2 separate regions of the Homo sapiens genome follow, and region 1 is linked to region 2. Evidence: promoter capture Hi-C in 16 types of primary human blood cells and fetal thymus (Javierre and others, 2016). All regions are on one chromosome and are shown on one strand. The core of a region is centred on a gene start or on the middle of the fragment in contact, and the rest is flanking DNA. Distances in the headings are between cores, read along the strand shown.

Region 1 (2,700 bases), core at 36-2,535, 1.1 Mb before region 2:
TAAACAAATAACTTCCCAAGTATCTTGCTTTGTCTTATTGGGAGTCAGTCTGGGTAGTGGTTGCCCATAAAGCTTTGGAGCTAGGCTGCCTGGGTTGAAATCCTAGTTCCTTCACCAGCTTTCTGACCTTGAAAATTACTTCATTACTCTGTGACTCAGTCTTCTTACCTGTTAAATGAGGATAATAATAATAATACTGGGAGAATTAAATGACTTAATATATATCACATGCCTAAAACATTATCTAATTACCCAGTAATCACTAGTTGTTATTATTAATGGCATCTTTCAGAAATTTCAGCGTGCCTGAAGTGGGGAGGGGTCTTAGTTCAGGTGAAGTCCTCTAGATTCTTGCCTCTCAAAGAGAGCAAGGAGCTGCATCCACATCACCTGGGAGCTTGCTAAAAATTCAGAATCCTGGGCCCCACTTCAATCCTGCTGAATCAGAATCTGCATTGTAATGAGATCCCTGTGTGATTAATATGCTCATTAAAGTTTAGGAAGTACTTCTTTGCTCTTTGTAAGTGCCAGATTTTTTTTTTTTTTTTTAAGAAAGGAAGGTTGTTCAGTTGTTCAGAAAACATGTCAAGACCTGCTTTCATATTGACATTTGCACATTTAGCATGCTTGAGGATTTTGTTTGTGTTACAACACGTTTTGAGACTTACACTTTCATTGGCTGCAGAAAGTCACTGTAGGACGAGGGGGATAATGTACACTTCTATGTGCCGCATTAGTGGTCTCATCATGCTGTGCATTACTGGTCTTTAATCATGTTTGTCTGAAAAGATTGGTTAAGTAAAAGGAATGGTTTAATTTATGCTTCTAGGATCACCCCGACTTGGAGGGGGAGGGTAATCTTATCCAGTTATTAATAGGGGAGGTCTAGTTCTTATGGGAAGAAATGCTCAAGATAACCCAGATTTGGCATGAAAGATGGTGGCAAGTCAACAGCCTACTCTGAATGTGTTTCATTTTTCTTGGAAGCTACATCTGCATAGGGAGATAATTTTATTTTCTTATGGCACTTTCCTCTGCAGTGGATACCATACTCTTTTTAAAAATGCTAATGTGATTTAAAATGTGATGTTACATTCTATACGATTCCTCGTTTTCATTTTCTTTTTTGCTCATCTAATAGATCTTCTCTGGCAGTTGGCTGTTCTGAGTGCCCTCCCATGTTCACCGTGCCTCATGCTTACCAGCTCTCACTGTTTCATGCCCAGGGCCAGTTACCCTGTGGGCCATACAGCATCTCTCATGTGGTTTGCAGGATGCCCCACACTTGTTTGAACTTTTCCAGGTCACGGGTGTGAAGGCAAGAAGTAGTGTGTCTGGCTTGGAGACTCTATGCCAGAGTTGGGCAATAGGATATTCCCCCCACACCTCCATCGCCTTGGTTGTCTCAGCAGGGGAGAACATGCTTCGTGTGGAAATGAATATGGCTTACAGTAGGAAGGTCAAATATGTTTGCAGCCCTGAGATAATGAAGCTCATCACAATGAACCTGTGGACATTAATCCATGATTTCTTATTGTAGAGAATTTCACTGTATCCCCAAAGCACTCTGGCTATGGATCAGAGGTTGTATGCTTTACTACTGTGAATCTCCCATTGTAAAATGTCCGTTTATTTTGGAGGATTTTGGTGAGGGTTACCAAAAGTTTTAGTTCTTAAATCTCCCATTTTGGTGTCTTCTTTTCTTCTGCTTTTGTTGCCTATAAATGTATAGCACATTGCAGGATAGTAGACTGAGGTCCCGGTAAGAATTTCAGGTTTGATGTAACTAGTGAATCATGAGTCAAGATGCCTTGATTAGGGAAGATGATGGCAGCTAACAAGGATGAAGTCTGTAATTATATCCTATGATCAGATAATGCAGAGGGGTTCATATCTTCTGTGTACCTGTGCGTGGATGCAGATGGTGAAACAGATAGTGACTGCAGCTGGTACTGGAGCTGTAGGAGAAAGTTCTTCATTTTCTGAGCATCCCAGGACAATCTCTGAATTGCCTGTTGGCTTTGCTTTTGATATGAAGTGTGGGTAATGTTTCATGTGGAAACCAGGCCATGACTTGTTGTGGGGACCATTTATAATTGGGATGAAGCCTGAAAAATGAGTTGGAGTGAAGGAATTTGACAGAAATGAAATGACTTGAGGATAGAGACAAAAATATCCTCAATGTGATAGTTTTGTCTGTTGGTTTGCATGTCATTATTTCTCCACTTCCCTCCACTTGCTTTTTCTGCAATAGGCGCAGTGCATGCTATGAATTAAAGGAGGAAGAGGAAAGTAATGAGAACAGGCCTGCTTTTTTTTTCTTCTGAAACATCCAGACTCTGAAATTATTAGCTCCATCCAAAATTACTTATCTCTTTATAGCACTGCTGTACAAAATGTAGGTGTTTTTCCCCCTCAAATTCTGCTGCTTTCCCCCTTCTTTATAGGAACATCTGGTTTCTTTCAATCTTCATATTCTTAGTGAAAATAAAACTGAGTGAAGCTTTGCTAAGCTCTCAGAACTCTTGCAAACCCTTGACTCCATGTGTTTGATGAGCAGGTCAGCCACCTCCCTTACGTCATGCACAGGGCTGCCTGGAAAGCTACAGCTCACCAAACACCAAAGCCCAGATGTGCAATCCAGTCCATCAATGGTGACTCTGCTGATCTTATTTTGCTTATCACTGACCACAAAGACAT
Region 2 (2,700 bases), core at 89-2,588:
CCACTCACCCATGAGCCAAGTAGTCATAACAGACCAGCAACAAGTCCCACTAAAATCTCTAGGGAGGTGTTGCCAAGGTCCACTTAGCGTGTCCTGGCTTCTCCCTGTATTTCCCTCCTCATGACTCCCTTCCCACTCCCTTCCCTCTCGGAGCCCTGAGCTGGTCAGCAACACTTACTTCTCTTTGCTGTGTTTACTGCCCCACTCGAACTTGCCAGTACTCCCAGTATCGCAGCCCAGCTCTGATTTGTGAAGAAAGATCCCCAGACGTGTCTTGAACTCTTTGGCTCTGAAAAACAAATCAGGAACATGAAAGCATTCTCTCATTTGCTCAGCCAGTGTGGAGAGGTTTATGGGTCCCAGAAGAGCTCTGGGTGGTGCCACCCAAACTTTAGCCTCAAGAGTTCCTGGAAACTCTTGGCTGTCCCCAGGCCAAGAGTGCTTCTCTTATCAGCATCATCAACCCCAAAGCAACAAAAGCAATGTTTGAGCTATGCTGTGGTAGGTCTTACACTTTCTGGGTAATACACACGCTGCATATATGGGCTTTTCCCTAAAGTCACACTGATCTCTCTTCGTGCCTGTTGATTCAGAAAAGAACTCAGCATTCTTTTCAGAAGTATTTCTGAACTGTGTGGGAAACTGATTCCTGCCTTCATCTTTACTTTTTCCTTCCCAGCCAGTAAGGATTGGAAGCTGTTGAGTAGCTCTCTGGAATATGGACACACCCTCAACAGTGGGAGCCCCCACCCCCACACACCCCACCAAAAAAAAAAAAATCTCCCTGTCTTCCAGGGGCAGAGGAGGCAATGCCCCTAGCTCTGGTCTGAGGAATGAAAAACAAATGCTTAAGAAATGGGCAGGCTCAGTGCTGCCTGGAAATGTCAACGTGGCCTTCCCGCAGCCGGGTCTTCAGCAGGTCACCTGAGCACGACTGCAGTTTGTCAGAGGATGGGGATGGCAGCAAGCCGCGGGCCCTTGCTTCCCTTCCCCTTGCTTTCTCCCTGCTCCTGGAATCTGAGCACGTGGCATCAAGTGCGCTTCTACCTCTCTACTCAAGCCTCTAGCGCCCCATCCCCGCGCCCACCCAGGTCCCCAGGCCTGCCGCTCCACTCCCTAAGAGTTGGTGGGACTTCCCCCAAGCAGTTGGACAACCTCCCCTTACCTCTCCAGGCAGGTGGTGGGGAAGGCGGCCAGGGTGCGGCACATGGCTGCGGGCGCAGGGCAGCACGTAGTAGGCAGGATGGTGGCAGGCTCCAGGAGGCTCCGCGTGCGCCAGGAAGCAAAGGCGCGGTAGCAGGTGCTAGTCAACTGCGGTTGGGTTTAGCAGCCTGCAAGCGCCCAGACTGAGCGGCCGCTGCTTTAAATCCCCTCGGAGGAGCGGGGCGGGGCTGGGCACTGCTGACCAATCGGAGGGTGGGGCTGGGCGCTGAGAAGGCGGAGGCGGGGCCCGCAGCCAGACTGGGCCGGGTGCAACTTTCGCGGCAGCTGGAGCACGCGGAGCTGCACCCTCCGCCCAGAGGACGCCGCGTGTGGAAGGAAAAGCGGCAAGAGAATTGGCACGGGGATGAGACGTGCACACCCAGTTTCCTAGGGAAAAGTACCTGCCGACCTCTAGTAACAGCAGGAAAGTCACGCAGCGGTGTCGTGTTGAGAGAGTTTGCACGGGGGTGGTGGGTCTGGGAGGCACACAGGGCTTTCTTTGATCGCAGGCAAGTCTGAGCCTGCTGGGTCCTGAGGACAGGCGCACAGGGTGCAAACCTGGGCAAAACAGCATCTGATTATACTGATAAGTACCCTTTACGAGGCTCTTACCATGATGGACACGGGGCTAAGTAAGCTCTTCATCATCATCTCCATTTTATAGATGAAGAAATCGAGAATCAGAAAGCTAAATAAACTTGTCCAAGATCACAGTTGGAGATGACAGAAAAGTGGAATAGGGATGAGTAGTTTATTGAACACCTACTATGTGCTAGGCACATAAGTAAGACTTGCTCAAAGTCTTAGTTATTAAATAACTTGCTCAAAGATGTGCAGCTAGTAAGTGTTGGCTCCAAAATTCAAATGTGAATTTGCCATTCTTTTTCCATTGCACACACACACACACACACACACACACACACCACACACACACACAAAGGTTAGTACCCGGTCACGGCTATACCTGTGGACGATCCTGGGTTTAAGCAGTTAATACCTTATTGTCTCCATCTCTGACATAAAGGTAATAAATGCCCTTCCTCTCACCTCATCTTCCCATAAAGGCATTGGGATTGCTATTAAGAGGCTGTATGTGAGGTTAAAAGTACAGGGTCTAGAGTTAGATTTTCAGGTTTCAAGTCATGGCTCTGCCAGGTGACCTGCTGAAGACCCAGCTGCAGGAAGGCCACGTTCACTGTTAACTGGCTACTGATGGGAGACGAGGCAAACTGCTTAACCTTTCTATGCCTCCATTTCCTTGTCTCTACGAAGAGAACAACTTATTTCATAAGGTGGTTGTGAGAACTAAATAAATTAATTCTTAGTTTGAGTTCCTAGGAACTAGACTCGGGTAGACACTTGCATGCAGGAGGTTTACTGGGGAGAGTTATCAGAATTAAGAGGGAGTAAAGAAAGCAGGTCTGGGCAGAGGGAGGAGTTGAAGGCCATGCCATTTCAACAGAGACCCCAGCTGGTTCCAAGGAATGCCCGGAAGCT

The links. Contacts are between HindIII fragments. The CHiCAGO score rates a contact against its expected background, and 5 or more counts as called.
Region 1: a contact is called between a fragment that was not itself captured here and the fragment with the promoter of RGS16 in region 2, in 1 of 17 cell types (neutrophils). The highest score is 6.3, in neutrophils.

The regions. Positions count from the first base shown.
Region 1 is chr1:181,486,492-181,489,191 of GRCh38, forward strand. All of the region lies in intron 1 of CACNA1E (calcium voltage-gated channel subunit alpha1 E), which reads left to right. Among named protein-coding and RNA genes, the nearest start is that of CACNA1E, 4.3 kb to the left of the region's middle. The HindIII fragment of the contact is 2,431 bases long and covers 71-2,501 here.
Region 2 is chr1:182,603,051-182,605,750 of GRCh38, forward strand. It overlaps RGS16 (regulator of G protein signaling 16), which reads right to left and starts at 1,339. Exons shown (of 5, transcript NM_002928.4): 1 at 1,166-1,339; 2 at 179-289. The coding sequence starts at 1,209. RefSeq lists enhancers at 904-963, 1,054-1,103, 1,574-1,653. The HindIII fragment of the contact is 22,726 bases long and covers 1-2,700 here.